4 separate regions of the Homo sapiens genome follow, and all the other regions are linked to region 4. Evidence: promoter capture Hi-C in 16 types of primary human blood cells and fetal thymus (Javierre and others, 2016). All regions are on one chromosome and are shown on one strand. Each heading gives the region's core, a stretch centred on a gene start or on the middle of the fragment in contact. The rest is flanking DNA. Distances are from core to core; before and after follow the strand shown.

Evidence for each region. The method cuts DNA at HindIII sites, captures the fragments that hold promoters and counts their contacts. A CHiCAGO score of 5 or more calls a contact.
Region 1: a fragment that was not itself captured here is called in contact with the fragment with the promoter of MAN2B1 in region 4 in 7 of 17 cell types (naive B cells, erythroblasts, total CD4 T cells and 4 more); the score reaches 7.9 in naive B cells.
Region 2: the fragment with the promoter of ZNF878 here is called in contact with the fragment with the promoter of MAN2B1 in region 4 in 1 of 17 cell types (monocytes); the score reaches 5.4 in monocytes.
Region 3: the fragment with the promoter of ZNF20 here is called in contact with the fragment with the promoter of MAN2B1 in region 4 in 8 of 17 cell types (erythroblasts, fetal thymus, naive CD8 T cells and 5 more); the score reaches 11.3 in erythroblasts.

The regions. Positions count from the first base shown.
Region 1 is chr19:11,877,082-11,884,775 of GRCh38, forward strand. No RefSeq gene overlaps it. Among named protein-coding and RNA genes, the nearest start is that of ZNF69, 6.9 kb to the right of the region's middle. RefSeq lists an enhancer at 4,240-4,419. The HindIII fragment of the contact is 2,118 bases long and covers 3,774-5,891 here.
Region 2 is chr19:12,050,793-12,058,378 of GRCh38, forward strand. It overlaps ZNF878 (zinc finger protein 878), which reads right to left and starts at 2,169. Exons shown (of 4, transcript NM_001080404.3): 1 at 2,007-2,169. The coding sequence starts at 2,009. RefSeq lists a silencer at 1,765-1,814 and an enhancer at 2,003-2,508. The HindIII fragment of the contact is 8,690 bases long and covers 1,234-7,586 here.
Region 3 is chr19:12,137,400-12,144,535 of GRCh38, forward strand. It overlaps ZNF20 (zinc finger protein 20), which reads right to left and starts at 2,951. Exons shown (of 4, transcript NM_021143.4): 1 at 2,781-2,951. The coding sequence starts at 2,783. ZNF625-ZNF20 (ZNF625-ZNF20 readthrough (NMD candidate)) reads right to left here. Exons shown (of 8, transcript NR_037802.1): 4 at 5,242-5,316; 5 at 2,781-2,926. It also overlaps the pseudogene RPL17P47. RefSeq lists silencers at 720-822, 2,528-2,737. The HindIII fragment of the contact is 6,979 bases long and covers 1-3,509 here.
Region 4 is chr19:12,660,926-12,668,179 of GRCh38, forward strand. It overlaps MAN2B1 (mannosidase alpha class 2B member 1), which reads right to left and starts at 5,817. Exons shown (of 24, transcript NM_000528.4): 1 at 5,618-5,817; 2 at 4,778-4,880; 3 at 4,427-4,600; 4 at 3,867-4,060; 5 at 2,778-2,910; 6 at 2,392-2,537; 7 at 335-451. The coding sequence starts at 5,776. It overlaps WDR83 (WD repeat domain 83), which reads left to right and starts at 5,882. Exons shown (of 11, transcript NM_001099737.3): 1 at 5,882-6,067. WDR83OS (WD repeat domain 83 opposite strand) reads right to left here. Exons shown (of 4, transcript NM_016145.4): 4 at 7,148-7,254. RefSeq lists enhancers at 3,487-4,435, 4,436-5,383, 5,040-5,089, 5,150-5,279, 5,300-5,429 and 2 more and a silencer at 5,680-5,959. The HindIII fragment of the contact is 17,009 bases long and covers 3,357-7,254 here.

The DNA of each region.
Region 1 (7,694 bases), core at 3,583-6,082, 780 kb before region 4:
AATTTCTGCTGTTTAAGAAACTGAGTCCATGGTACTTTGTTATACTAGCCTGAGCTAAGTCACCCCAAGAGTCCTCACATTAACCATATACTGTCGTACAAGTGCTGCATTTGGATCTACCTGTAATGTCTCCAAATCTACTTTTCCTTTTGGACCCATTGTGAGAACAGGTTTGCCTCATAGACAACTGCTGGTGATATTAGTGATAGCCTACCAACTAGGGACTAAAAAGAAAGTTTTTCTTTTTTTTTTTTCTTGCTTTTTTTTTTGAGATGGAGTTTTTGCTCTGTTACCCAGGCTGGAGTGCAATTATGCAATCTCGGCTCACTGCCAGTTCTGACTCCCAGGTTCAAGTGATTCTCCTGCCTCAGCCTCCCAAGTAGCTGGGTTTACAGGTGCGTGCCACCACATCCAGATAATTTTTGTACTGTTAGTTAGAGATGGGGTTTCAACATGTTGGCCAGGTGGTTCTCGAACTCTTGACCTCAGGTGATCCACCTGCCTTGGCCTCCCAAAGCACTAGGATTACATGCATAAACCACCACACTCGGCCTCTCATTCATATGTGTGTGTATATTCTGTTTTTAATAAAAATAGAGACTAGGCCTATGTTGCCCCGTGTGGTCATAGCCCAAACTTTTGGGCTCAAGCGATTTACTCACCTCAGCCACCCAAAATGCTGGGATTAAGGCATGAGAAACTGTGCCAGGGCAAATGAAAGAAACTTAGTGGGAGGCCAGGCACGGTGGCTCACACCTGTAATCCCAGCACTTTGTGGGGCTGAGGCGGGTGGATCACCTGAGCTCAGGAGTTCAAGACCAGCCTGGACAACATGGTGAAACCACATCTCTACTAAAAATACAAAAAAATTAGCTGGGCATGGTACTCCCATTCTCACAGTCATGCAAAGGCTCTTTCTTAAGGATTCCACCTGCTGGAAAGCATTATATACTGCCTGCACTGACTCAAGAGTGTCTGGTTTCATCTCCATGTCATAATTACAACCACAATCCTAAAGGGACTGATTTACCACACTGTGGTTGCCGTAAGTCCCAAATTGTACCCTCAGCAGCAACTATATCATCCCAAGTCACAGCTCTACCCTCTAAAGGTGTGCCTGAGGCTTGTGCCTGCCATACTAACACATTAACCTGTCCAAAGCTTCCTTCAGAGCTGTGTCCCAGTCCCAAAGTGCCCCTTTCTAAAACATTGGGCTAAGTGTCAGATAAATGCTCTCCAATAATCCAAAGACCAACAAATGTCTGGATTTTTTTTCTTAAGAGAAATAGTATGGCTCTGTTTCCCAGGCTGGAGTGCAGTGGTGGGATCATAGCTCACTGTAGAAACTCGGGCTCAAGGGATCCTCCTGCCTCAGCCTCACAAGTAGCTGGGAGTAAAGGCACATGCCACTATGCCCGGCTGTTTTTAAATTTTTTGTACAGATGGAGTCTCACTCTATTGCCCAGGCTGTTCTTGAACTCCAAGGCTCAAGTGATCCTCCCACCTCAGCCTCCCAAAGTGCTGAGATTACAGTTATGAACCAATGCACCCAGAACTCAAAAAGGAATATTTATAAGGGAAAATATCTAATGTTCAAATTGTTATGTATAGAGCAGTTAACGGGAACTATCATTTAGGGTCTATGGGATTCTAGGACACTAGGTATGAAACAAATATGAGGAAGGTCAGAGAACAAGCTGACTTGATGATTAATGCTGAAGGTGCCGCAAGCTTGGTTTAAGTTTTCCTCCTCCCATCCTCCCTGATGAATTTGATAAAGTTTAAAGGGATGGTTTCACCGGGGGCTTTTTCCACTGACTGCAAGGAGGTGATCCCGCTTGGTAAATCTTCAGTAGGCCAAGCCTCTTACGTGGCTAGAATGATCCAGTCCATAAGGAAATGTCACCACCTGCTGTATTTTACACTTTGACCATCAAAGGGGTACAGGGTTTCCCCAGGGAGTTTGGTGGGATTTTAATTTTTTGTTTGTTTGTTTTGAGACAGTGTCTTGCTGAAGCGCAGTACCCAATTATAGCTCACAGCAGCCTCAAACTTTGGGGTTCAAGTGACTCTCCTGTCTCAGCCTCCTGAGTAGCTGAGACTGTAGGTACACACACTTCTCCTTGGTAATTAAAAATTTTTTATGGAGATGGGAGGGTCTCACTTCACGGCTCAGGGTGGTCTCCAATCTCGGGCTTCAAGCGATCCTCCCACTTTGGCCTCCCAAAATGTTGGGATTACAGGCGTGAGCCATGGCACCCGGCCTCCCAGGCTGTTGTTTGAAGGTCTTTGCAATCTCTAAGAGTTCTGCAGCAATTTATTCCCTGACAGTGAGAGTCTCATCCTTTGACCCCATTTTGCCGCAGTAGCTGAACGTTCACTTTTCTTTCCATAAGGGGGCGAGCTTGCCAGTGACCCTAATCCCTCTCCTCATCGATGACTTCTTTGTCATCAGAGCCTTCCTCTTCATAAATTCCCACGGAATCCAAGTTTTCACGTCCCAATCGGGCTTAGTTATGATAGCCACAGGCCCACACCAGCTGCCACAGCACCCCTGTCCCATGGAAACCGCCTGACTCTCTTCTCCCCAAGCGTCCTGTCCCAGGAGCCCCCATCATCTCTGCTCCCCCGGGCTCCAGGCCCTAGAGCCGCGCTGCTGCAGAGCCCGGTTCCCAGGGCTGCTCCCTCCATATATCCACATTCATCTCCAGCTCTCCACCCTCTCTCCAACCAGCCAGGCCCGGAGGTACTGCAGTGTCACTGAACGTGCGTCCCTCAGCTGCCACCTCCACCACGATCTGGAAATCTTTTAAATGCACTTAAGTTATCTTAGAATTTTCCTTCCCCACTTTATACATAAACATAGGAGGAGAGCAGGGACTCTGCTGGTGTCTTATTCACACAATGGGATTGAGGGTGTTTGTGTCATGGAACTGATCAATGGGGTGAGAAGTAGCTGAATAACCTGCAGGGGGCAGCAGAGCCCGAGGCCGGTGACTCAACGCTGAGGCCAGTGTGGAGCCTGCAAAGGAAGGGAAAGGAGCCTTTCCTGGGGGCTTCCGGGCAGCCCGCCCTCCCCTACAGGTGGCCTCCAATTGCTCAGAGCAGCTCCAGAAGGAGTGCGGATTCCGAGAAGCTGAAGAGCCCTGGAAAGCAGAAGACCCACATGCACACGTATGTGTGGGGGTTCTGTCCTTTCTGGTGTTGTACCTCTGGAGCCTGGGGCTGTCTTCTGGGCAGGGTTTGGGGTTTGACATGCATGGGGCCACTGGGGTCAGATTTGTAAGATACAGTGAATTTCTTTAAGTTTTTCTTTAAAGATTTAGCCTGCTAACTTCCTCGTCTTTTGTTCTCAAACTCAACTTTCCTGTTCCTCCTTGCCCCTAGTTACTTTAAAACAGCCTACCCCGTTCCCATCAGCTCTAATCAATAACTCACATCTGTTCCCTTGGTTACCTGTACCCATTGTTCCCCCAAAACTGCACATCTCACATGCTCCACCTCTGTACCTCACATCCCCCTCCCCTTCTATATTTAGAAAAATATGTACAAGCAGCCAATCGGGTCAGCTCAGACTGTGCGGTCCGACCCCAGCCCATGGGGGAGTAACACAGAGATAGGGACCGCATTAAGGATAAAAACCTCCTGGTCTCCTTTGTTCTCTGTGCTCTTGTGATCTTGATTGACGTGAGTGGCACCCTTCTGCAGTAGTAAATTGCCTTGCTGAGAGAATTAAAATTTTGCCTGAGTGCTGGTTTTACTTCACGGCACCAAGCTTTTATTCCGGGAGCATTTTATATCCAACAATTCTAGGGGATCGTCCGAGATCCCCATGCTCCTTTTGGAAGAGTTCTTCAGTCACCCTACCCTGGGGAGACGCGTCCCACTGCCCCATTGCGGTGGCCTCAGGGACAGGAGATCGAGACCCACCCATTTTGACGAATAAACCCGGACTCTCAGCAACGCGGGGAAGAGAGGCTTGCAATACCGCAGCGACCAGGTAAACTCTGTGCACAGACCAAGGTGGGAAACGTTGCAGGGGCAACAAAGTAATTCTTTGGTAGTCGGAGGGGTGTGTCAGGGCATTCTGGGGGTTGAAAGTGCATGAATGGTAACAAGCACTACTGCTGTGCGGAGCGAGTGAGTCCAATCTGCGGTTCTGTGGTCACCTCACACGGCTTAGGGCAGCCCTGCGGGGGTCCTGTCACAGGTTTATACGGACCTGCCATCAATGCTAAGAGGAACCTGAAACAAACCTGCGAGGGAAGCGGCCAGAGTGGATGAAGCGAAAGAAGGGTGCAAGGAACCTCCAGCAGGTGGAGCTAAAGGATAGTGGAATTGAGCCTTAGCCACACTTCCAGTGAGGGATAGGCAAAAGACCTCCTAATATGAGGGGTTGAGCCACAAGGAACCCCCCAAATAGGCAAGAGATCCTTAATTTGAGAGGCTGAGCCACAAGGAACCCCCAAAATAGGCAAGAGATCCTTAATATGAGGGGTTGAGCCACAGCAAGCCCCCCTAGGCAAGAGATTCCTATCACGAGGGATTGAGCCTAGCCAGGACCCAGTATAGGAAATATTACAAGCAAAAAAGACAAAGTTAGCAACAAAGATATCCCCCCTAATAGTCCCCTAGGTCTCATGTTAAAACATTAGAAAGATAATGAAAAGACTAAACATAAGAAAAAGCAATTAGTGATAAAATATTGCTGTTCCATTTAGACTCAAGAACGAATCCTTGAACCCTTAGTTTTCTGGCCAGAATTTAAGTCGAATGAGGGATGGATTTGTGAACTTCTAATAGAAAATGTTGCTAGTAGAAGACCTGCCTCCTGAGAAGAAACAAATTATGCCCTATGTTAGTTGCAAGGAGTTGTCCTTTCCCCTCCTCCAAGGATTGAAAGGAGCAAGTCAAAAACTAATATTTGGAGGAAAATGAGTTGTACATGTGCCCTATTAAGATAGAACCATCTTTAATGAAAAAGACAGTGAAGGAAGGGGCTTGGGGGATCCTAGCAAAAAGAACAACTCGCAAGATCCCCTAGACCATTCCCCACCTAATACCCAACCCTTCCCCTCAGGCATCGCCCAGTAAGTCTGTTCTTCCCCAGCCTAAGTCCCTCTCCCCTAAAGAACTCCAAGCTCCTAATTCACCAGATGGCTTTTGCCAGGCTAGCAACATGAAGGATCTGCCGCAACATGTTGTCAGCGTTGTCTGGCCCATAGTGCACCCCTGCAGCGGCAAAGCCCATGCTCCTGCCCACTGGCTGGTCCAAGGTCCTGGCACTGTATTGACGGCAGCTCTGCATGACATGCGAGCCAGGCCCCAGCCTATGCCCCATGCAAACTACATTATAGGATATCTGCCTTACTTTGCTGAGGCTAAGTAATACGGGGCTTCAGCGATGGCTCCAAGCAGCCTGGCATCCCCGCAGCTAAGTTTCCTGAGCAAGAAGTAGATAATCTTTCAGCGGATATATCCACTAGCATTTATTATAGTCAGGCCAGTGTTAAAAGTGAAAATATCCACCAGAAAAGAACTCTGATTCTTTAAAGTCACCTATGTTAAAATGTACCACCAAAAAAGAATTACATGTGTATAAATATGAGGCTATTCTGTTAAAAATGATAGTTTAATGTTACTAGTAATTTGCTTAACCTAACAAGTTTCTTAACGAAAGATCCAAATCTAAAAAGGAAGCACACATGTTTAGATTTAACTGATTACCATACAAATGTCCGGCCAAACTTAAGAGAAACCCCCTTCAAAAATGATTAAAGGAAAAAGGATTCAACAGATGTTCAATAATAAATAGAGAAGTTCCTAGAGAAATAAAATTTAAAAATTGTTTAATAGTTTACCCAAATTTGTAAGCTGTTTGCACTTAGTCAAGCTTTAAAGTAACTGCAAAGGAACCATCTATACTAATCTATATTGATTCTAAATACACCTTTATCGTGGCTCATACATTTAGAAAATTTCAGACAATAATAAAGGTCAAAGCCTTGTTCATGAAGAGTTAATAACCCAAGTGTTAAATAACCTTCAGTTACCAGAAAAAAAAAAAAAGCTATTTTCCACGTCCCCAGGCACCAAAAATCCTATCTTTCAAGAGTTAAGAAAATAACCTAGCAAATCAGATAATCCGAACCAGCTGCCGTTTCTCCTGTAGGCACTGAAGGGAATTCAAATGTTATTTAAACCTCTTATGAAAGAAGTCCTATCCCACCTAAATTAGAGGACCCATTAAAGACCTCAAGCTATGTATAGCACAGTTAAAGTTTATATGTGTATGAAAATGTACATCCTTAGCCAAACAAGTCTAGAAACTTAGTTGCCATAACTCAAATGTCTTCTGTCTTCCTATTAATCCAAACTACCTCTCAAAGCAATCCACTGCCAACATTCCTACATACTTGGTTTATCTTCCACTTTCTCTTCCCTCAAAACTCACAATTTTCCAGTACAGGTGCGGCTCCTGGAGTTCCCAGTGCGTCAACACCGGCCTGAGGAGCTGGCCTAGTACTTCCCACCATTGAAACTGCAGTCTGGACAGCAGAGAAAGGATAGACCCATCACACCCGAGTCAAGAAAGCACCGCCACCCCCAAAGTCGTAGGCCATTATTCCAGGGGAAAACCCCCTCAAACTAAAGCTAAGAAAAATTTAACCTCTTACATCTATTCTATTACTCTTTCTTCTTTTCCCCTTCCAATGCTGACCACCTTGTCATTAATGTAACTCAATCAAACTCACCCCAAGTTATCACGTTTAATGCTATGTCTAGTCATACCCTGTAAAGATCTCCAAAGTCAAAGACAAGTCTCAGCCTCAGAAAAGTATCTCTGCCCCTTTAAGGTGAAAGGCCCCCCCTACCAAGACTCTTGTTCCTTAACAAATATAAGAAAACAAGTCTGTCATAGCTAGAATGATGTCCTATGGACAACCAAATGTCAAGGCTAGACCTCATCAGCAGGTGGCTGTATATCCTTAAAACCATACATTCATTTCACTAAAAAAAGCACCTCCCCAATTGCCAGTATAATCAATGTAATCCCATACAAATTTCCACCTCTACTGACCCTAAACCTACTTTAAGTCACTTCTATGGAACAGGAGCCAACTTGGCCAGCACAGACCTCATAAGATCTTTCGAAATGCGTTTTATTAATCCTTCATTCTCTTCACCCCCTTCCTTCTCTTCTCCTTCTAAGCTTTCTTCTAATCAGACTGCCACCTGTTTTCTACCTAATGATACTACTAAAGTAAATATTGTAGAAGTAAAAGATTTAAGACAAACCCTAGCAATTAAAACAGGATATCAAGATGTAAATACCTGGTTGGAATGGATTCAATATTCCGTCCGCACATTGAACAAAAGCAATTGTTACGCTTGTATGCATGGCAGACTAGAGGCCCAGACTGTTTCCTTTCCACTAGGATAGCCCTTCAGCCGACCAGGCATAGGCTGTATGGTAGCTCTTTTCCAAAATTCCACAGCCTGGGGCAACAAATCATGCCAAGCTCTCTCTCTGCTATATCCCGAAGTCCAACAACCTGCAGGCCAGCCCCCAAAGGCCATTCAGCTTCCTTCTCCTGACGTCAATTTCACCTCATGTCTCTCACGACGAGGGGAGAATCTGGCGTTCCTTAGAAGCTTAACAAGATGCAATAAGCTTAAGCCCTTCCAAAAAC
Region 2 (7,586 bases), core at 919-3,418, 610 kb before region 4:
TAAGAAAAGAAATGAAAACCGGCCGCGCGCGGTGGCTCACGCCTGTAATCCCAGCACTTTGGAAGGCCGAGGTGGGTGGATCACGAGGTCAGGAGATCGAGACCATCCTGGCTAACACGGTGAAACCCCGTCTCTACTAAAAAATACAAAAAAATTAGCCGGGCGCGGTGGCGGGCGCCTGTAGTCCCAGCTACTTGGGAGGCTGAGGCAGGACAATGGCGTGAACCCGGGAGGCGGAGCTTGCAGTGAGCAGAGATCGCGCCACTGCACTCCAGCCTGGGTGACAGAGTGAGACTCCGTCTCAAAAAAAAAAAAAAAAAAAAAAAGAAAAGAAAAGAAATTAAAACCCCTTGCAAAGAAAATTTTAAAGTCCTGGGCCGGGCGCGGTGGCTCACGCCTGTAATCTGATACAGGAGAATCGCTTGAACCGGGGAGGCGGAGGTTGCAGTGAGCCGAGATTGCGCCATTGCACTCCAGTCTCGGCAACAAGAGCGAAACTCCGTCTCAAACAAACAAACAAAAAAACCTGTAACTAAATTGTATAATTAATTTAGTTGTACTAATTAGTTGTATTAAATTAATTGTACAATTAATTTAGTTGTACTAATTGTTGCGATAATTAAATTTCTTTGTTTTTTGCCTATATAAGAAGGAGCTTAACTTTTTTTTTTTGAGACAGTCTCATTCTTTCACCATGGCTGGAGTGCAGTGGGGCATTCCACTGTAATCCCAGCACTTTGGGAGGCCGAGGAGGGTGGATCACGAGGTCAGGAGTTCGAGACCAGCCTGGCCAATATCATGAAACCCCGTCTCTACTAAAAATACAAAAATTGGCCGGGCGCAGTGGCTCACGCCTGTAATCCCAGTACCTTGGGAGGCCGAAGTGGGCGGATCACAAAGTCAGGAGGAGTTCAAGACCAGCCTGGCCAATATGGTGAAACCCGTTTCTACTAAAAATACAAAAATTAGCCGGGCGTGGTGGCTGGCGCCTGTAGTCCCAGCTACTCGGGAGGCTGAGGCAAGAGAATCGCTTGAACCCGGGAGGCGGAGGTTGCAGTGAGCCGAGATGGCGCCACAGCACTTCAGCCTGGGGCGACGGAGCGAGACTCCGTCTCAAAAATATAAAAATCTGGTAAAATAAAAACAGGTCTTTTGGGGAAGGGGGCGGGGACTGGGATGGAATAACGTGGCAGATAACAGCCCTCCTTCCTACAGCCTCCAAATTTTAGACAAAGCTTTACACACTCTCAACCAACTGCCACCTACAGAATCCCTCCACCACCTGTGCCTTCTAACCCCGCTTCCATGTGTCCCGCCTTTCGGCCAAAGGAACTTACACCTTCCCGGCACTGATTCATCATTTTCCTGCAATTCCTGTCTCCCTGAAATGAATAAAACCAAACTGTCAGGAGCTGCCTCGGGATTGCTTACTCCAGACTTCGCGGGGTTGTGTTTCCCTCAGCCGAGGTCTCTCCTATTCGGCTCAGAATAAACTTATTCTACACGATTTGGGTTTTTCCGTTACCAAACCACAAGCCAGGACTGGGAGTTTCTCATTCATTAATCGCTGTTTGCTAAAATAAACTCTCATTTTTTAACAGTGCCTCAGTTTAATTTTTAACTGGAAAAAAAAAGGAACTGGGGACCCCACAGCCCACAGCTCCTCCCACACGAACCCCACACCCGAGGCAGGATCCCCCATGACCCTTCCATGGTCACCGCACAATCTGGGGAGACGCGGGGCTGCGGGCGCGGAGCTGCTCAGAGAGGGAGCCGGGGCCGGGGCCGCAGTCGCCGCGCAGGGACCGGACAGGACGCCCGGGGTCCCGGCTGCCGGCCCAGCTCCACCCAGCGGCCGAGGGGACCGAGGGCCGAGCTGCGCTAGGGGGACTGTGTCTGGAGCCCAGAGTCGCTGCAGGGGGGCCCGGGCCCCGCCACAGCGGGTTCCTCTCGGTTCCACCCAGTCCCTCCTTTCGCCTTGGGACTCCCCAGCACCGCATGCTCACCATTTCCTGGCTTCCAGGTATTCTGGCGTCCTCTCTAAAGGTCCCGTGAACAGTGCAGGTCACAGCGCAGTCGACAGAGCAACAGCAGCTACGGCGGAAGTAACTGGTCCCTCTCGGAGCAAGAAAGCCCCAGACCTTAACTAGCGCGAGCAGCCCTAGGAGTGAAGAGAGCGGGAATGCAACCTCCCCTTCCCTGGAGGACAGTGGCAGGGCCCCGCCCTAGCGCCCCTGATTGGATAGGGGTCTAGACTCCGCCCCCTTCCCTGAGTGACAGCAGAAGCCCCGGGTAACTGGGCGCTGCAGAGCCGAAGCGACTGGTTCTGGCCACACTTTCCAAGGTCAGCTCCCTCCCTCCCTCCCACCTTTACTTCGAATATTTGCCTTCGGCCAAACTTGCTCCGAACTGCTAGAAGGGACACTGTTGTCTTCCTCACTCCGTGGGCCGTCCCTGCCCCTTCATCCTACACGGGACACAAGTGTGCAGGGAATTCCAGATTCAGTGTCCACAAAATGTGAAAGACATTAAAATATTTTGCCCCAAGATATTGCCCTGCCAAAATATATTTCTTTGACAGTTTTGAAATGGCTGCTGCTTGGCCAGCAAACAAAAGGTGGCCTTGCAAAACTGTCTTTTGAGGGGGAAATTTACATTTGTAGAGAATCTCCGTTAATGAAGCACTGCCAGCTCCCCCGTTCTTTTCCTTTCCCTGATCTAAAAGCTATTGAGAGTTTGACACCTTTAAAATCTGAAGAGAGGTAGCACATGGTGACTCATGTCTATAATCCCACCACATTGGCAAACTGAGGCGGAAGGATCCCTTGAAGCAAGGAGTTTGAGGCCAACATCATCAACACAGCGAGATCCCTGTCTTTCTTTCTTTTTTTTTTTTTTTTTTAGACAGTCTCGATCTGTCGCCCAGGCTGGAGCACAGTGGCACGAGATCTTGGCTCACTGCAACCTCCGCCTCCCAGGTTCAAGCGATTCTCCTGCCCCAGCCTCCCAAATAGCTGGGATTACAGACATGCGCCACCACGCCCCGCTAATTTTGTATTTTTAGTAGAGACGGGGTTTCTCCATGTTGGTCAGGCTGGTCTCGAACTCACGACCTCAGGTGATCCGCCCGCCTCGGCCTCCTAAAGTGCTGGGATTACAGGCGTGAGCCACCTCGCCCGCCGATCCCTGTCTTTATTATTTAAAATTTTTTTAAATGGCCGGGCGCTGGCCGGGCGCAGTGGCTCACGCCTGTAATCCCAGCACTTTGGGAGACCGAGGTGGGCGGATCACGAGGTCAGGAGATCGAGACCATCCTGGCTAATACGGTGAAACCCCGTCTCTACTAAAAATACAAAAAAAAAATTAGCCGGGCGTGGTGGTGGGCGCCTGTAGTCCCAGCTACTCGGGAGGCTGAGGCAGGAGAATGGCGAGAACACGGGAGGTGGAGCTTGTAGTGAGCAGAGATCGCACCACTGTACTCCAGCCTGGGCCACAGAGCAAGACTGTGTCTCAAAAAAACAAAACAAAACAAAACAAAAAACCAGTGGCCGGGCGCAGTGAGACCAGGTCTCTACCAAAAAGATAAGTAAATAGATTAGGGCCAGGCATGGTGGCTCATGCCTGTAATCCCAGCACTTTGGGAGGCCGAGGTGGGTGGATCACTTGAGGTCAGGAGTTTGAGACCAGCCTGGCCAACTTGACGAAATCCCATCTCTACCAAAAATATAAAAATGAGCTGGGTTTGGTGGCACACACCTGTGATCCCAGCTATTCGGGGGGCTGAAGCAGGACAATTGCTTGAACCCAGAAGACGGAGGTTGTAGTGAGCAGAGATTGCACCATTACACTCGAGCCTAGGTGACAGAGTGAGACCTTGTCTCATAAAAAGGAAAAAAGTCTATTCTCTGGGGGAGACATCATCTACGTAACAGTCCACCTCTAGCCAAGCCTCTTCCTTTCTCAGTCTACTAAGCTGTCTTGCTACTAAACCTAATTTACTGACCTCAGGTCGCTATATAATCTTCTCTGTCTTATAGCTGGGTGTGTCTTCATTCTGAAGGTTCCCATGTATACATGTTAAATACATTTGCATGCCTTCTTTTCTATTAATCAATCTGCCTCAGATCAATTAGTTTTCAGCAAACCTTTAGGACACGAAGAGTCTATCACCCCCACAAAGCCATCCCCTTGTCTCAGGGCAGGAGGGGAACAAGGCCATGTATGACTGCTCCAGGAGGGAGAGACAGATCTCCTGCAGTGGGGCAAGAATCGGGATGAGGCATGGCCAAGGTTTCCTCACATACACCCATCTTCTCCTCACAGTGTGGAAACTCCCCCTCCTCTCCACACCTTCATTTTCATTAGCGGGAAACTCTCACCTGGAGTCAGTTTAATCTTATTACCAGAAAGGGGTACCAATCCAGACCCCAAAAGAGAGTTCTTGGACCTCATGTAAGAACAAATTCAGGGTGAGTCCATAAAGTAAAAGCAAGTTTATTACAGAAGTAAAGAAACAAAAGAATGGCTACTCCATAGACAGAGCAGCAGCATGGTCTGCCTGACAATGTATACTTATAGTTATTTCTTGATTATGTGCTAAACAAGGGGTGGATTATTCATGAGTGTTCTGGGAAAGGGGCAGGCAATTCCCAGAACTGAGGGTTCCTACCTCTTGTTATACCACATAGGGTAACGTCTGGATATTGCCATGGTATTTGTAAACTGCCATGGCGCTTGTGGGAGTGTTTGTTAGCATGTTAATGCTTTATAATTAGTGTATAATAAGTAGTGAGGACCACATAAGGTCACTTTCTTTTCTTTTCTTTTTTTTTTTGAGACAGAGTCTCACTCCCTCGCCCAGGCTGGAGTGCAGCAGCGCAATCATAGCTCGCTGCAGCCTCTCTGCCTTCCTGCAGCCCCTGCCTCCCAGGCTCAAGCAATCCTCCCAGCTCAGCCTCCTGAGTAGCTGAGACTACAGCCACAGGCCACCACAATCAGCTAATTTTTGTATTTTTTGTAGAGATGGGGTATCACTGTGTTGCCCAGGGTGGCAGAGGTCACTTTCGTCGCCAACTTGGTTTTGGTGGGCTTTGGCTGGTTTCTTCAGCGCATTCTGTTTTATCAGTGGGGTCTTTATGACCTGTATCTTGTGATACCAGTCCTGCCGACCTCCTAGCTCATCCTGTGACTAAGAACGCCTAATCACCTGGGAATGCAGCCCAGTAGGTCTCACCCTTATTTTACCCAGCCCCTATTCAAGATGGTTTCACTCTGCTTCAAACACCCCTGACATTATGACTTAAATAAAGTCAACTTTATAAACCCTTTGTTCATAACACAACCCAAACAATTTGTTCTCTGAGGCTGACCTTCACAGATTTGCTTCATATATATCAATTACAGTCTGTCCCCAGCGACCCTGTGCATGCCAAAACCAAAACACTGCCCAGAAAATAGCTCCAGGCCTGAAGGTACCTCTGAAAGGTACAACCCCAGATAGGACAGAACCCCCGAGCGCATCTGCACGTGGGTCTTCTGCCATCCAGGGCTCTGCAGCTTCCCAGAATCCACACTCCTTCTGGAGCTGGAGGCCACCTTCAAGGGAGGGCGGGCTCCGGGGGAAGCCCCCAGGAGTTTGCAAAAGGAGCCCCCTTTCCCTCCTTTTGCAAACTCCAGACTAGCCTCAGCGGGGAGTCATTGGCCTCCGGCTCTGCTGCCCCCTACAGGTTATTAAGCCGCTTCTTACCCCATTGATCAGTTCCTAGAAACAAACACCCTCAATCCCAGTGTGTGAATAAGACGCCAGCAGAGTCTCTGCTTTCCTCCTGTGGTGCTTTTTTTTATTTTGTTTTGTTTGTTTGTTTGTGACGGAGTCTCGCTCTGTCGCCCAGGCTGGAGTGCAGTGGCGCGATCTCGGCTCACTGCAAGCTCCTCCTCCCGGGTTCAGGCCATTCTCCTGCCTCAGTCTCCTGAGTAGCTGGGACTACACAGGCGCCCGCCACCACGCGCGGCTAATTTTTTTTTTTTTTTTTTTTGGAGACTGAGTTTCACTCTTGTTGCCCAGGCCGGAGTGCAGTGGCGCGATCTCGGCTCACTACAAGCTCCGCCTCCCGGGTTCTCGCCATTCTCCTGCCGCAGCCTCCCGAGTAACTGGGACTACAGGTGCCGGCCACCGCGCCCGGCTAATTTTTTGTATTTTTAGTAGAGACGGGGTTTCACTGTGTTAGCCAGGATGCTCTCGATCTCCTGACCTCGTGATCCGCCCGCGTCGGCCTCCCAAAGTGTTGGAATTACAGGCGTGAGCCACCGCGCCCGGCCTCCTCCTGTGCGTTATGTATGACATAAGGAAAAACAGGCTGGGTGCGGTGGCTCATGCCTGTAATCCCAGCACTTTGGGAGGCCAAGGCGGGCAGATCATGAGGTCAGGAGTTCGAGACCAGCAGCCTGGCCAACATAGTGAAACCTCGTCTCTTCTAAAAATACAAAAAATTAGCCAGGCGTGGTGGCAGGCGCCTGTAGTCCCAGCTACTTGGGGGGCTGAGGAAGGAGAATCGCTTGAACCCGGGAGGGAGAGGTTGTGGTGAGCCGAGATCGCGCCACTGCACTCCAGCCTGGGCAACAAGAGTGAAACTCAGTCTCAAAAAAAAAAAAAAAAAAAAATTAGCCAGGCGAATAGCTTGAACCTGAGAGGTGGAGGTTGCAGTGAGCCGAGATGGCACCACTGCACTCCATCCTGGGCGACAGAACGAGACTCCATCAGAAAGAAAAGAAAGGAAGGAAAAAAAGAAGGGAAGGGAAAGGGACAGGAGGGGACGATAGGGGAGGGGAGGCGGTCGGGAGGGATGTGCAGCCCAGGAGGAGAAGGAAGGGGGCCAGGGAGGCTTAGTCAGTGGGCGGTGGGTGTGTGGGTGTGTGTCCTGTCAGCTTCACATTGTCCAAAGGATCAGAATTCAGTTGTGAGTTTATGAAAGTGAAAAGCAGGGAATGGCCTTTCTGGAAAACACATACTTCAAAGAAATGGGCTCAGTTCTTTCTTACTCAGATTTTGAACAACTCATTTTCACAACCCCAAACCCTCTGCAGGTCACATTTCCTCCTCTCATTTTGGTCTTGGCCTGAACCCTACCTGCTCTCCTTGCACCCTTGTTCCCAGCAAACCGAGGATTGGGCTGCTTATTCTCTGTGCCCAATAATGAGATGCAGATGAACTGGGAAAGAAGAGTTGCTTGCTTTATTTATTTTTTTTATTTTTTTGAAATGGAGGCTTGCTCTGTCTCCCAGGCTGGAGTGCAGTGGCGCGATCTTGGCTCACTGAACCTCCACCTCTCTGGTTCAAGCGATTCTTGTGCCTCACTCAGCCTCTCGAGTAACTGAGATTACAGGCATGCACCACCACGCCTGGCTAATTTTTGTATTTTTAGTAGAGACGGGGTTTCACCATGCTGGCCTCCAACTCCTGGCCTCAAGTGATGTGCCCGCCTGGGCAGCCCAAAGTGCTGGGATTACAGGCGTGAGCCACCGTGCCTGGCCTAGGTTTTTAACGGTATTCCTAAGGAAACACAAATCATGGCATGAGTGTGTCCTCT
Region 3 (7,136 bases), core at 1,701-4,200, 530 kb before region 4:
ATGTGACTTACACAGCTGCCTCCTGGTGACGACCTCACTGTGGAAAAGCTAGACAGACCAACTTGACTTGCCCCACTGACCCTTATACCCACGTGGATGGCACAGACCACCTGTTAATCACAGCCTGACTTCACAGAACTAGCACCTGCTTGCTCCAAATCTATCAGAAACAACTCCCTAAGAGAAACCTCCTTGGGCATTGCCCTGGACCCCAAGAAAAACTCTGGCCCAAAAGTCCCTGTCTGTCTTTCTCCCCACCTGCTGGTTGAATGTGCATCCTGGATGTTCCCCCCACTCTGTGTTGCCCTGCAAGGTGTGCTGCCCTCATCTGTCTGGGATGTGATAATGCACTGTTATGTCATGGCTTTATGGCTTTGTTGAGATGACTCTGCTGTGGCTCACTTCACCTACACCTTTCCCTTAATAGCAACATCCAACTGGCTGACCAGCTATGTGTCTCCAAATAATGGAAGCTGGGACTGGGGGAGAAAAACTGAGCATCCCAAGGGGTTGGCTATCTAGATGAAGAGTGTACCAGGAGTCTCCTCCCATTTGGGAAATTCAGTTGCTCCTTTGGGAGATCCCACACCCTGCCTCAGGCTATCCTCTGGGAGGACTGACACAGGGGCTGATATTCAGTAGGCCAGGAGAGATGGGAGCTGTGGGCATTTTGGTTCAGCCCCAGGCGGTTCTGAAACCCAGGACCAGGAAAAGATAGATTGGGACTCCTGAAGACACATCACCCTGTAAAGTTTTCAAAAAGGAAACAGGCCAGGCACGGTGGCTCACGCCTGTAAAATTCCAGCACTTTGGGAGGCTGAGGCAGGCAGATCATTTGAGCTCAGGAGTTCGAGACCAGCCTGACCAACATGGTGAAACCCCATCTCTACTTAAAATACATGGGGTATGGTGGCGCATACCTGTAAACCCAGCTACTCGGGAGACTGAGGGCAGGAGAATCACCTGAACCTGGGAGGCGGAGGTTGCAGTGAGCCAAGACCACGCCACTTCAATTCAGCCTGGGTTACAAAGAGAGACTTTCTCTCAAAAAAAAAAAAAAAAAAGGAAACAACCCAAAGACATTCTGAGATGGTGTCTGTGCCTTACGAAGATAAGAGGAGAGGAACAGAGGTTTTTCACTGGAGTATCAAGTGGTTATTCTCTATTCTATGTGAAATGTTCAGAAACAGAACACAAATATTTTAAAAAAAGTTATCCATGACCTTGTGAAAAGATGATAAACCACTAAAATACTGCATCTATGTGAAAGAAAGGATGAAGAAATATACTCTACAATAAAGAAAGTTGATACAGGAGGCTGAGGCAGGAGAATCACTTGAACCCGGGAGGCAGAGGTTGCAATGAGCCAAGATCATGCCATTGCATTCCAGCCTGGGCAACAAGAGCGAAACTCCGTCTCAAAAAAAAAAGAAAGTTGATAATACTGTGAGTTGGAGAAGGGGAGTTAATGTTTGGAGATGCGGAAAAGTAATTGAAAATTTAAGATGTTACTGCAAACTGCTGAAGAGTTAGGGCGGGGTAGCAGGGTGGAGGATTTGAGACCCATACATTAGGAAAATGCAGGAGGAAGCCAGTCCCTATAGACAGTGTGAAAAAATTTAAAGCAGCAGCAATTAGACTGAAGTGTGTTTAGTGCTATAAGAAACTACCTAAGGACACCAAAATCAAACTCAAATTGAGGCAGGAAAATAGGGTCTGGACGCAGGGAACATAAGGCCTATTCAAACTTCAGCTATGAAAGGAAATACCTACTCCATAGGGCGTAAGCCAAGTAAATGATTTTATAACCTTACTTCATCCTCTCCTTTTACATAGAGTATACCCCAAGTAACCAATGGAATCCTCCAGGGGGTATTTAAACTCCCAAAAATTCTGTAACGGGGCCTTTGAGCCCCTGTGCTCAGCCCCGCTTGCACACTGTGGAGTGTTAAATCCCTTCATTCCTTCCTTGCTTTGTGCGTTTTGTCCAATTCTTTGTTCAAGACGCCAAGAACCTGGACCCCCTCCACCGTTAACAAAATGCAATTCTTCTTAAAACTTTCTGGTACCAAAACCACAAATCATGACTGGGCGTTTCTCACTCATGAATCGCTGTTTGCTCAAACTCTTTAAATTTTTTTTTTTTTTTGAGATGGAATCTCGCTCTGTCCCCTAGGTTGGAGTGCAGTGGCGTGATCTCGGCTCACTGCAACCTTCGTCTCCTGGGGTCATGCGATTCTCCTGCTTCAGCCTCCTGAGTAGCGGGGACTACAGGCGCATGCCACCATGCCCGGCTAATTTTTTGTATTTTTAGTAGAGACGGGGTTTCACTGTGTTAGCCTGGATGGTCTCGATCTCCTGACTTCGTGATCCGCAAGCCTCGGCCTCCCAAAGTGCTGGGATTACAAGCATGGTCCACCGCGCCCGGCCCAAACTCTTTAACAGAAAAAAAAATCCGCAGGATTCCCCCATGACCCTCCCGTGGTCCCCGCAAAATCTGAAGAGACGCGGGGCTGCAGGCGCGGAGCTGCCCAGAGAGGGCTCCAGGGTCGGGGCCCACAGTCGCCCGCGCAGGAACAGAACAGGAGGACGCCCGGGGTCCCGGCTGCCGGCCCAGCCGCACCCTGCGGCCGAGGGGACGCAGGGACGAGCTGAGACAGAGGGATTCGGGTCCCAGATCCAGGAGGCGCGGCGAGGAGGCCCAGATCCCACCACAGCCGCTTCCGGCCGGTTCCACCCAGCCCCTCCCCCGTCTGGGGACTCCGGCCCCATACACTCACCATTTCCCGGCTTCTGGGTGTCCCGGTGTCCTCTCTAGGGCTCCCGTGAATAGTGCGGGTCACGGTGCAGGCGGCAGAGCGACAGAAGTTGTGGCAGAGGGACCCGGGGCCTCTCGGAGTAGGAAATCTGGTATCCCGACAACAACCTGCATAGCAACAAAAGTAGAAGCTGGAATGGGCCTCCTCCTTCCGGACGGACCGTTGGCCGGGCTCCGCCCCGGCGCTTCTGATTGGACAAGGTACAAGGCCCCGCCCCCTCAGAACTGAGTGACGGCAGAAGCCCTGGGTAACGAGCCCTGCAAAGCCGGACTGATCGGTTCTAGCCACAGCTTCTCTCTAAGGGACAACTCCTTCCCTGAGCCCTGGTCATTGGATATTTTCTTTTCAGCCAAATTTGCTCCTGATTTTTACACAGGGCACTATCTTCTTCCTCATTCAATGGGCTGTCAGTGCTTCTTCGTCCTGCACAGGGTTGTAAGTGTGTGCAGGGAATTCCAGACTGAGTGTCCAATGGAGCGATGTGCTGACCTCAGAGCAGGAAGGGGAGCCCAGATCAGGCCAGGCACGACTGCACCAAGAAGGAGAGGCAGTTGTCCTTCAGGGGCCCGGAATTAGGGATGAGACATGGCCAAGGCTTTCACACATCTCACCCCACCTCACAGTGTGGAAACTCTCCCTCCTTCCAGACCTTCATCTTCATCGGCAGAAAACTCTCACTTGGTGATTTTAAGCTTCTGACCTAAATAAACTGTCAACTGCATAAGCCCCTTCTCCAGGAGAGGTCCCAAACAGTTATTTCCCTGAACTTGATCTTTACGGATTTTCTTCAGATATGCAAATTACAGTCTGACCCCAGGGACTCTATGCATGTCAAACCCAAAACACTGCTCCCGAAAACCGCCCCAGATTCCAGATGTACAGCCGCAGAAAGGACAGAACTCCTGAAGTGCACCTGCACGTGGGTCTCCTGCTTTCCAGGGCGCTGCAGCATGTCAGAACCCACACTCTTTCTGGATCTGCTCTGAGCAGCTGCAAGCCACCTGCAGGGGAGGGCGGCTGCCCAGGAAGCACCCAGAACTCCACTTCACTCCTTGGCAGGATCCATACTAGCCTCAGCGTCCCGTCCCTGGCGTCGGTCTCTGCTGCCCCCTGCAGGTTATTCACCTGCTTCTCACATCATTCATCAGTTTCCATGAGACAAACATCCTCAATCCCACTGCGAGAATAACACACGAGCAAAGCTCTCCTCCAGTGTGTATGTATAAAGTCGAGGAGGAAGTGTCCAAGATTATTTAACTGCATGAAAGTGAGGCAGTAGTGGCTGGGCGCTGTGGCTCAAGCCTGTAATCCCAGCACTTTGGGAGGGCGAGGTGGCTGGATCACCTGAGATCAGGAGTTGGAGACCAGCGTGACCAACATGGTGAAATCCCGTCTCTACTAAAAATACAAAAATTAGCCGGGTGTGGTAGAGCCCACCTGTAATCCCAGCTACTCGGGAGACTGAGGCAGAAGAATCGTTTGTATCAAAGAGGCTGAGGTTGCAGAGAGCCGAGATTGCACCACTGCACTACAGCCTGGGCAATAGAGCGAGACTCTGTCTCAAAACAAAACAAAAAAACACACAAATGTTTAGTCATGTTACTTATTTCTGGTTTCCAGCCTGACTTTATAACATTCCTGACTCTGGGACTCTCCAGCTCTCCAGAATTATGCTTTGAAGAAAAAACAAGATAGAGCACAGGGCCCACATGTCTCTTATAAACTGTGAACCAAAATATTACATAGCAGCCATCTGTCAGAACTGCTTCCAGGCTATTGTCCTCAGTCACAATCCTAAATCAAACTCACTTTCTTTAACAAATTTAATTTTTTTTCTTCAGTCCACATGAGTAATCTAAAAGAAACACATAGACAGAAGAATCTCTTTATTATCATCTTTCTACCAAGTCAACATCAAGCATTAAAAAAATGTAAAACAAAGTGAAAACCATCCTTCTCTGATTCATCGTAGACCCAGAATCTGCCAGTCACCAACACCTATCTTCATTTTCTCTATTACGGCCAACTTTTATCTAAGAGATATCATAGGGGCATATTTAATAGAGTTTGTCATTTTGTGTTTTATGAATTTTAGAGGTTTTTTTGTTTTGTTTTGTTTTGAACTTTTATTTGCATTTTCTTTTGGCTGAATTTGTTTGTCTCTTAAGTTTATGTTTCTTCTGGGGTATCTTTTTCTTCCGTGCATCCTCCTTTTCTGCTTTTGGAACAAGGTGTTTCTTTTCACTAAGCATCATCTGGATGTGGCAGGGGAGTTTGTGGATGGGTTCATCTGCCCATGAGTTCTGTAAGTCAGGTGGTACATTATGGGTGCCTTTTCCCTGGATGTGCTCAATAACCAGGGAATCTACATCTATACCCTTAAGTTCAGCATAACTCTGCACTTGTAAGCAAATTTCAGTACCTTTTCGGGGCCACTGATGGTGAGTCCAGCCCCAATGTCTGTCTTGCGTACAGCGACCAACTCCACTTTCTAAGACTGAAATGGTACACATAATTTCTGTAAAAGAAAATATTTCAGATACTTGGTGGCTTTTCATATAGGCATACCTGTGATGGCCTGAGCACCTTCACAGTTTACAGTGAACATGAGGGTTTCATCCTTCTAACATGCACGACTTCGTGGGATTTTCTGGGTCATAGTGAATAATGTTCATAGATCAACTCAGGCCACACAAGAGGACAGGTTTTCTTTGGTCTTTAAAAGGAACTGATTAAAGAAAAAAAAAAAAAAAAGGTGGAAGCCAGGCACAGCAGCTGGTACCTGTAGTGACAGCTACTTGGCAGGCTGAGGTAGAAGGATTGTGAGCCCAGGAATATGAAGCTCTCATGCACTAAGATCACACTTGTGAATATCACTGCACTCCAGCCGGGTCCAAACAGCAAGACCAACTCTCTAAAAAAAAATTACATAATAAAATAATTTAAAAAAAAGTTTGTGGTTAGAAAAAAGTTTTTATTTAAGACATTCATTAAAGAAAAAAGTACTTTGAGAAGAGATTAGGGCCAGGCGTGGTGCCTATAATCCCAGCACTTTGGGAGCCCAAGGTGGCAGATCATGAGGTCAAGAGATTGAGACCATCCTGGCCAACATGGTGAAACCCCATCTCTACTAAAAATACAAAAATTAGCTGGGCGTGGTGGCGCATGCCTGTAGTCCCAGCTACTCAGGAGGCTGAGGCAGGAGAATCTCTTGAACCTGGGAGGCGGAGGTTGCAGTGAGCCAAGATTGCACCACTGCACTCCAGCCTGGCCACAGAACAAGACTCTGTCTCAAAAAAAAAAAAAGATATTAGGCCTGGCGCAGTAGCTCACACCTGTAAGCCCAGCATTTTGGGAGGCTGAGGCAGGTGGGTCACTTGAGGTCAGGAGTTCAAGACCAGCTTGGCCAACATGGAGAAACCCGTCTCTACTAAAAATACAAAAATGGCCGGGCGCAGTGGCTAACGCCTGTAATCCCAGCACTTTGGGAGGCCAAGGCAGGTGGATCACCTGAGGTCAGAAGTTCGAGACCAGCCTGGTCAACATGGTGAAACCCTGTCTCTACTAAAAATACAAAAATTAGCTGGGTGTGGGGGCACACGCCTATAGTCCCAGCTACTCAGGAGGCTGAGAAAGGAGAATCGCTTGAACCTGGGAGTTGGAGGCTGCAGTGAGCCGACAGCACACCACTGCACTCCAACCTGGAGCAAGACTCTGTATCAAAAAAAAAAAAAAAAAAAATTTGAAGGCTGGAAAAAGATTAGAAGGCCGGGTGCAGTGGCTCACACCTGTAATCCCAGCACTTTGGGAGACACTGGTGTGGGTCACTTGAGGTCAGGAGTTTAAGACCAGTCTGACCAACATGGTGAAATCCTGTCTCTACTAAAAATATAAAAAATTAGCCTAGCGTGGTGGTGGGTGCCCGTAATCCCAGCTACCCGGGAAGCCAGGAGGTGGAAGTTGCACTGAGCCGAGCTCACACCAACACACTCCAGCCTGGGCAACAGAGTGAGACTCTGTCTCAAAAAAAAAAAAAAAAAAAAAAAAAAAAAAAAAAAAGAGTTTAGAGGCTGGGCATGGTGGCTCATGCCTGTAAAGCCAGCTACTCGGGAGACTGAGGCAGAAGAATCGCTTGAACCCAGGAGGCAGAGGTTGCAGTGGGCTGAGAATGTGCAACTGCACTCCAGCCTGGGAGACAGAGCCCGACTCTGTCTCAAAAAAAAAAAAAAAGAAAACTCGTGAGAACGAATGGCATAAAATACGTAGTGTACCCGATAGCCAGCCATTTATTATAGGATATTTTTGAATAGGAACTTT
Region 4 (7,254 bases), core at 4,567-7,066:
TTTCTGTATTTTTAGTAGAGACAGCGTTTCACCATGTTGGTCAGGCTGGTCTCGAATTCCTGACCTCGTGATCTGCCCGGCTCAGCCTCCCAACATGCTGGGATTACAGGCATGAGCCATTGCGCCCGGCCTCATGCTGGACTTCTTACCTACAGAACTGTAAGACAATGTATTTCTGTTGTTTTGAGCTGCTAAGTGTGTGGTCATTTGTTATAGAATGACCACAATAGAACAATAGAAAACAAAGACAGCACTGAGAGCTATGCACATAACCCAAGGCCCCCGGATGCAAGCGCACATGTGCACAAGGGTACCACAGGGTAGGCGCACTGACCTGCGCATTTACCAGCCGGATGAGCTTGTCAAGGTTCTTGAACCACATGTTGGCATTCTCATATTGGAAGTCCGAGCCCATGGTCATCACAGTGTGGTTGGTGCGGTAATACCGGCCCTGCAGGCAAGAGGGGAGTCCTGAAGCCAGAGGATCCTGGGCCATCCCTGTGTATAGCTGTGTTTTGATGTATATGGGGTCAAGGATGTTGGGTGCACAGGCATGGGTGGGGGTATGGCACTTGGGAGCGTGGGGACACAGATAAAAGTAGCCACCAGTTGTTGAGCAGTTCTCTTGGACCCACTACCTAGAAGAGGGCATCCAGTCACCATGCCATGCTATCTCTTGCCCAGCCTATGCTATCTCTTCTAATGAGGAATGCACATAAATCCAGGAGGGGGACATTGTGATGGTGAATAGAATAGCATCTTCCTCCAGGGGGCATGAGAACATGATTACAGGGGCTCACACCTGTAATCCCAGCTACTCAGGAGACTGAGGCAGGAGGATCGCTTGAGTCTAGGAGTTTAAGACCAACCTGGGCCACACAGCAAGACCCTGTCTCAAGAAAAAAAAAAAAAATTAATCTAAAACAATTTTTTTTTTGAGACAGAGTTTCACTCTGCTGCCCAAGCTAGAGTGAAGTGACGTGATCTCGGCTCACTGCAACCTCCACCTGCCAGGTTCAAGCGACTCTCTTGCCTTAGCCTCCCAAGTAGCTGGGATTACAGGCGTGCGCCACCACACCCGACTAATTTTTGTATTTTTAGTAGAGACAGGGTTTCGTCATTTTGGCTATGCTGGTCTTGAACTCCTGACTTCAGATGATCTGCCCATCTCGGCCTCTCAAAATGCTGGGATTATAGGCGTGAGCCACCATGCCCAGCCATCAATTTTTAAAGAAAGGAAAAAAAAATTTTTTTAAGGAGAACGTGTTATGCCAGGCATGGTGGCTCACACCTATATCCTAGCACTTTGGGAGGCCAAGGCAGGAGGATCACTTGAGTTCAGGAGTTTGAGACCAGCCTGGGCCACATGGTGAGACCTTATCTCTGTGAAAAAATAATGTTTTTTAATTATAAAAATGTTAAAGGCTGGACGCGGTGGCTCACGCCTGTAATCCCAGCACTTTGAGAGGCCAAGGCTGTGGGTCAAAAGGTTAGGAGTTCGAGACCAGCCTGGCCAATATGGTGAAACCCCCTTTCTACTAAAAAGACATAAAACTTAGCCGAGCATGGTGGTGGGCACCTGTAATCCCAGCTACTCGGGAGGCTGAGGCAGAAGAATCGCTTGGACCCAGTAGGTGGAGGTTGCAGTGAGCCGAGATCGTGCCACTGCACTCCAGCCTGGGCGACAGAGTGAGTCTAAAAAAAATAAAAAAGGAATTCTCAATAAAAATGTTAAAAATAGACTAGGCACAGTGGCCCACACCTGTAATCCCAGCACTTTGGGAGGTTGAGGCGGGCAGATCACCTGAGGTCAAGACCAGCCTGGTCAACATGACGAAACCCTGTCTACTAAAAATACAAAAATTAGCTGGGTGTGGTGGCAGGTGCCTCTAATCCCAGCTTCTTAGGAGGCTGAGGCAGGAGAATCGCTTGAACCCGGGAGGCGGAGGTTGCAGTGAGCTGAGATCATGCCACTGCACTCCAGCCTGGGTGACAGAGCAAGACTCTGTCTCAAAAAAAAAAAAATAATAATAAATAAATAAAAATGTTAAAAATAGAGGCCAGGTGCGGTGGCTCATGCCTGTAATCCCGGCACTTTGGGAGGCCGAGGCAAGCAGATCACTTGAGCTCAGGAGTTTGAGACCAGCCTGGACAACATGATGAGACCCCAGTGCAAAAATACAAAAATTAGCTGGATGTGCTTGTTTGAACCCAGGAGGCAGAGGTTGCAGTGAGCCGAGATCGCACCACTGCACTCCAGCCTGGGTGACAGAGTAAGACTGTCTCAAAAAAATTAAAAATAAGGAGAACGTGTTAGGGGATGCCTGTACCATGGAAAGAGCTCATTGTATTGTATATACCGGACTCGAAGGTTCTGGACACCAGGGTTACCTGGGCAGTGGCCACATTTAGGAAGTAATCGACCAGCTCCTTGGCGTTGTACTCGGGGCTGCGAGGGTCCTCCACCAGCGGCTGATCGACACACAGCACATCCCAGCACAGATTCCTTGGCGGGTTGTAACCATTGGGAAGCACACCTGCAGGTCACACCAAGTTCAAGGGGTGGCCCATCACCCAGACCTTCCCTGGTTTCAAAGCCGGCCATGTCCCACCCAGGATGGGCTTCAGAATTTGTGTCCCAATGCAAAAGGAAATGCAGGGCCTTTGTTCCCAGACTATAGGAATTCCAGGACAGTGACAACAGAGCAGATATCAAGCCCAGGGCCCTTCTGAGTGTGTGGCACCATGGCTGGCCCTGCCCTCACCAAGCCCCCTACCAGTGAAGAGGTCCGCGGTCGGGGGCTTCAGGCTGGTGCTGGCCCGCCACACCTGCTCCATCTCCAGCTTCTGCATCCGTACCCACTTATCTTGATAATCAAGGCGCCCAAAGAAGAAGCCGTCGAAGCCCATCTGGGGATGAGGGAGGAAAAGGCAGTGTGAATTAGTGCCCAGCCCTCTCACCACCAAACTCCCCTCTGCTTGGGAGGGGCAGGTCAGAGCACAGGTTAAAAAGCAGTGCTAGGTCGATGTGGTGGCTCTTGCCTATGATCCCAGCCTTCTGGGAGGCCAAAACAGGAGGATCACTTAAACCCAGGAGTTTTTGAGACCAGCCTGCACAACACGGGCAGACTGTCTACAAAAAATTTAAAAATTAGCCAGGCGTAGTGGTGCGCTCTTGTAGTCTCATCTACTAGGGGGGCTGAGACAGGAGAATCGCTTGAATCCGGGAGATTGAGGCTATAGTGAGTTAGGATTGCACCACTGCACTCCAGCCTGGATGACAGCAAGACCCTGTCTCAAAAAACAAAAACAAAAACACGTAGGGCTGAAACAGAGAGGCCTCCAGCTTATTTCCAAGCTTGGGGAAGTTTCAGAACTCACCACCTTGGGCTAGCAGGGAGAGGGCGGGTCCAACATCAGAACCCAGGTTCACCTCCCCAGCACTGTCAAAGCGCAGAGCAGGCCTGACTCCAGGAATGAGGTTCCCCCTTCCACAGCCTGAGGATGGATGGGGTCTGAGCACAGGTAATGAACCTGTTTTTAAGGCAGCCTAGGCATCCACTTGCCACCCGGTTTAGGGAGGAGCCAGGACCCGAGCTAGTGGGTGGGGCCAGAACACCAAGAGGGGCCTATTAGGGGAGAGGGCGGAGCCAGCCGGAGCTGGGTCAGCCTGGGCTGGGCATAGCCGGCTGAGGCCAGAGCTCAAAAGCCACTGGCTTTACGGCTCACTCAAGGGGCAGGGCTTCAACAGGCCTAGGCCTGGGCCTGGTCCTTGTGAGATTGCAGGGAGAGGGCGGGGTTTGACTGGGCGAGGGAGGAGCCAGAGTGAGTGAAGAAGTGGGCCCAAGAGAGGTCCCGGGTCGCACCTGCGCAAACAGCGAGGCCTGCTCCCGAGAGTGGCCGAAGGGGTCAATGTGCCAGGCCACACGGGGTCGCCCATCATTGCCAAATGTGTCCTCCAGAAAGCGCAGCCCAAGTGTCATCTGGTCCACGATGGCACCGTAGTGGGTGGCTGCCTCATCGTTCATCACCCAGCCACCATTGGCGAACTCCAGGCGCCCTGTGCCAGGACAGGCAAGGTCAGGGTCAGCGGTCAGAGCCAGGAGTGGGAGTAGGGTGGGTGATACTGGGAATGTGAAAGCCTGCCTGTGTACACATTTCTGGCGGAAGGACAAGAGGGGTCGCTCCCAGGCCATAGTTCCCAGATATGGGAAAGAGGCCCCCTGCATGGCAGGCTTCCCAGAGGATGCACAGCAGGTGGGGCTTTGTGGGATGTATAGGAGGTCTCCAAATGGAGAGTCCAGGCAGGCGGAGCGACACGCATGTTATACAGCTTGCACGTGGCATGACAAATCTCAGAAACCAGAGATGCAGAAGCAGAAGCTGGGCTGGGCTTCCTCTTTTCACTTCCTTGGGGTAGGCTCACCCTGGCGCACAAGGTCTCGCACGACTTCCTGTGTGGCATTTGTCTGCTGGTGCCACCAACGGGAGAAGAAGGCAATCTCCACGTAAATGAAGCGACGGGTGGGATCTGCCAGCAAGGCAGAGATGACCGAGTCCAGGATGTACTGCACACCGGCGTGCTGGATGTCATTCTTGACTGTGGATAACAGGGATAAGGCTCTCAGGGAACAGCAGAGCCAAGGGGGTTATTCCTAGACAGAGGAGCCCAAACCCTGGATATTAGGGTAGCACTGGCCCCACCCTAATGTCCAGGACCCAGAGGGATTACAGGGACCATGGGGATCCCAGGGACCAGTCCCCATCCTCTACTCACTTCCATAAAAGTACTGGTCCACGGTTTTGAGCCAGCCCACGTCATCATGTGTGTGAGGCAGCAGGTGCACGTTCAGCATGTTCGGCTGCACTGTGGGGCATGTCTGCACAGGGACCCCAAACACACATACCTTGTCAATAACCCCCGAGGTCGGGGGCTGCAGAGTAAGTCTTGATCTAGAGGTGAGTGACTCAGAGAGGCCTGATCTCGCCTATGTGCAGAGGAGGCCAGGCCCTCCCAGGCAGGACACACACATACATAGTTGTGCTCATAGATACAACTCCACTTTGCACAACCCCACAGGGCAGCTCTCATTCACACTCCGGGAAAATAATAATAGAAGTAGCTGATGTTTGTTCAGCATTTGCCGACAGCAGACGGCCACCGTGGGAGGTGGGGTGATGTTATCCCCAGTTTCCAGATGAAGGCACTGAGGCTTAGAGAGGATAGGTGACTTGCCCAACGTCACACACTCAGGAAGTGTAAGAGCTAGGCTGGAATTTCAGGCAGACTCCAGAGTCCCAGCTCTCAGCCAGCACCTCCCCCCACACATACACTGCTCACCCCCTGCCACCTCCTGCCCCTCCAATCCCACAGTTAAGTGCAGACAAAGTCTAGGCAAGCATCCCGGAGACACGGAGGCAGGTACAATCAGACACAGTCCTATACTCAGATGCGCACAGCCAGACCTCGCAATGACACAAAGCACGCACTCAGACCACACTGTCATATCATCAGCCATTCACTAGACACCCACAGGACAGACCCACCCACACCTCTAGACTGTATTCTGGGTTTCACTCTGCCTCCTGTACGTTTCAGCTCGGAGGCCCCACTCACCTCGTATCCCCCGGCCCGAGCACCGGCAGCCGCCAGCAACAAAAGGAAAAAGCAGAGAGGCGGGAGCGGTGGCCGCAGGGCGCGGGACATGGTCCAGGGGCCTGCTGAGTCCAGGCAGCCGCGAGCGCAGACCCCCGAAGCCCGCGCGTAGGCGCCCATGGCTCAGCAGCTTCCTCCTGGGGTTCCCCGGCCCTGGAAAGGCCGGGCAAACGCCCCGCCCCCAGACCCGGCCGGGCCAATCGGGGTGGGGGGCGGGGCCAGGGCGCGGTCTGGAGGCTCACGGGAGAGAGGCTGTAGCCCTGGGCAATCCCGGGGGTCGTTACAGGAAGGTAGGAAAATGCCACCCTCAGGGCACTGGTTGGGCTAAAGGTGACACTGGCGTCTCACGGGCTATGAAGACGGAATGCCTCTTAATGCCGGAATTCCAAGACGGAATGCCTCTTAATGCCGGTAGGAGCAGAAGTGCTTTTCCTAAGGGGGCCGGGTTTTCCTAGCCGGTGTAGTGTGTCCATGGGAATCCAGGGTGTCCGTCCCATGGACCTTCAGCGCTAGGGTCCTGGAAGGACCTAGCTTGCCTAAGAGGAGGATCTGATGAAGAGTCCTATACTGTGGGGATTGGGACGTTGGGTAAATACCCCTGGAGTACCAGGGATGGGATCCAGCCTGGTTGAGAAGGATCCCTGGGTGTTCCGGAGAGAAAAGAGGGTCTGACAAGTGGGGAAGGACCCCGAGTCTTTCATGCCTTTCCCAATTCCTACCAGTTCATTCTCTGATAAGAAAACAAAGCCCAGGGCAGGCGCAGTGGCTCAAGCCTGCAATCCCAGCACTTTGGGAGGGCCAGGCTGGTGAATCACTTGGGCCTGGGAGTTTGAGACCAGCCTGGGCAACATGGGTTGTTTTGTAGAGACGGGTTTGAAAACACAAAATTTGTAATTTTACACAAAATGTAAAAATACAAAAATTAGCTGGGCATGGTGGCACATGCCTGTAATCCCAGCTACTTGGGAGACTGAGGCAGGAGAATCACTTGAACCTGGGAGGCGGAGGTTGCAGTGAGCCGAGATCAAGATCATGCCATTGCCCTCCAGCCTGGGCAACAAGAGCAAAACTCTGTCTCAAAAAAAACAAGAATTAACTGGGCATGGTAGCACGCATTTGTGGTCCCAGTTACGTGGCAGGCTGAGGTGGGAGGATTGCTTGAGCCCAGGAGTTTGAGGCTGCAGTGAACATAGATTGTGCCACTGCACTCAGCCTGCATGACAGATCAAGACCATTTTCTTTCTTAAAAAGGAAAAAAAAAAAAGGAAACCAAAGCCTAGATTATCTAGGTCAGCAGGGCCATCTGGTGAGTTGCCAGAGGGCAGAAGTCACTGTCTTGTCCCTAGCACCTGACTTAAGACACAAGGTTTATGAAGTAAGCAAATGAACAGCCAGAAGCCTCCAGACTGGGGCCCCACACCAGGCCTATGGGGCTAGAGCCCTTCCCGCCAGGTAGGAGGAACACCCCACTGAACAGAAGAGGCTGACAGCCAGAGTGAAAAACTTTATTAACAACAGGTTTCAACGAGAAAGCAAATGAATACCCCTAGAAACATGGACAGCATCTCCCCCAGCAGCAGGCAGGGGAAGGGAGGCAG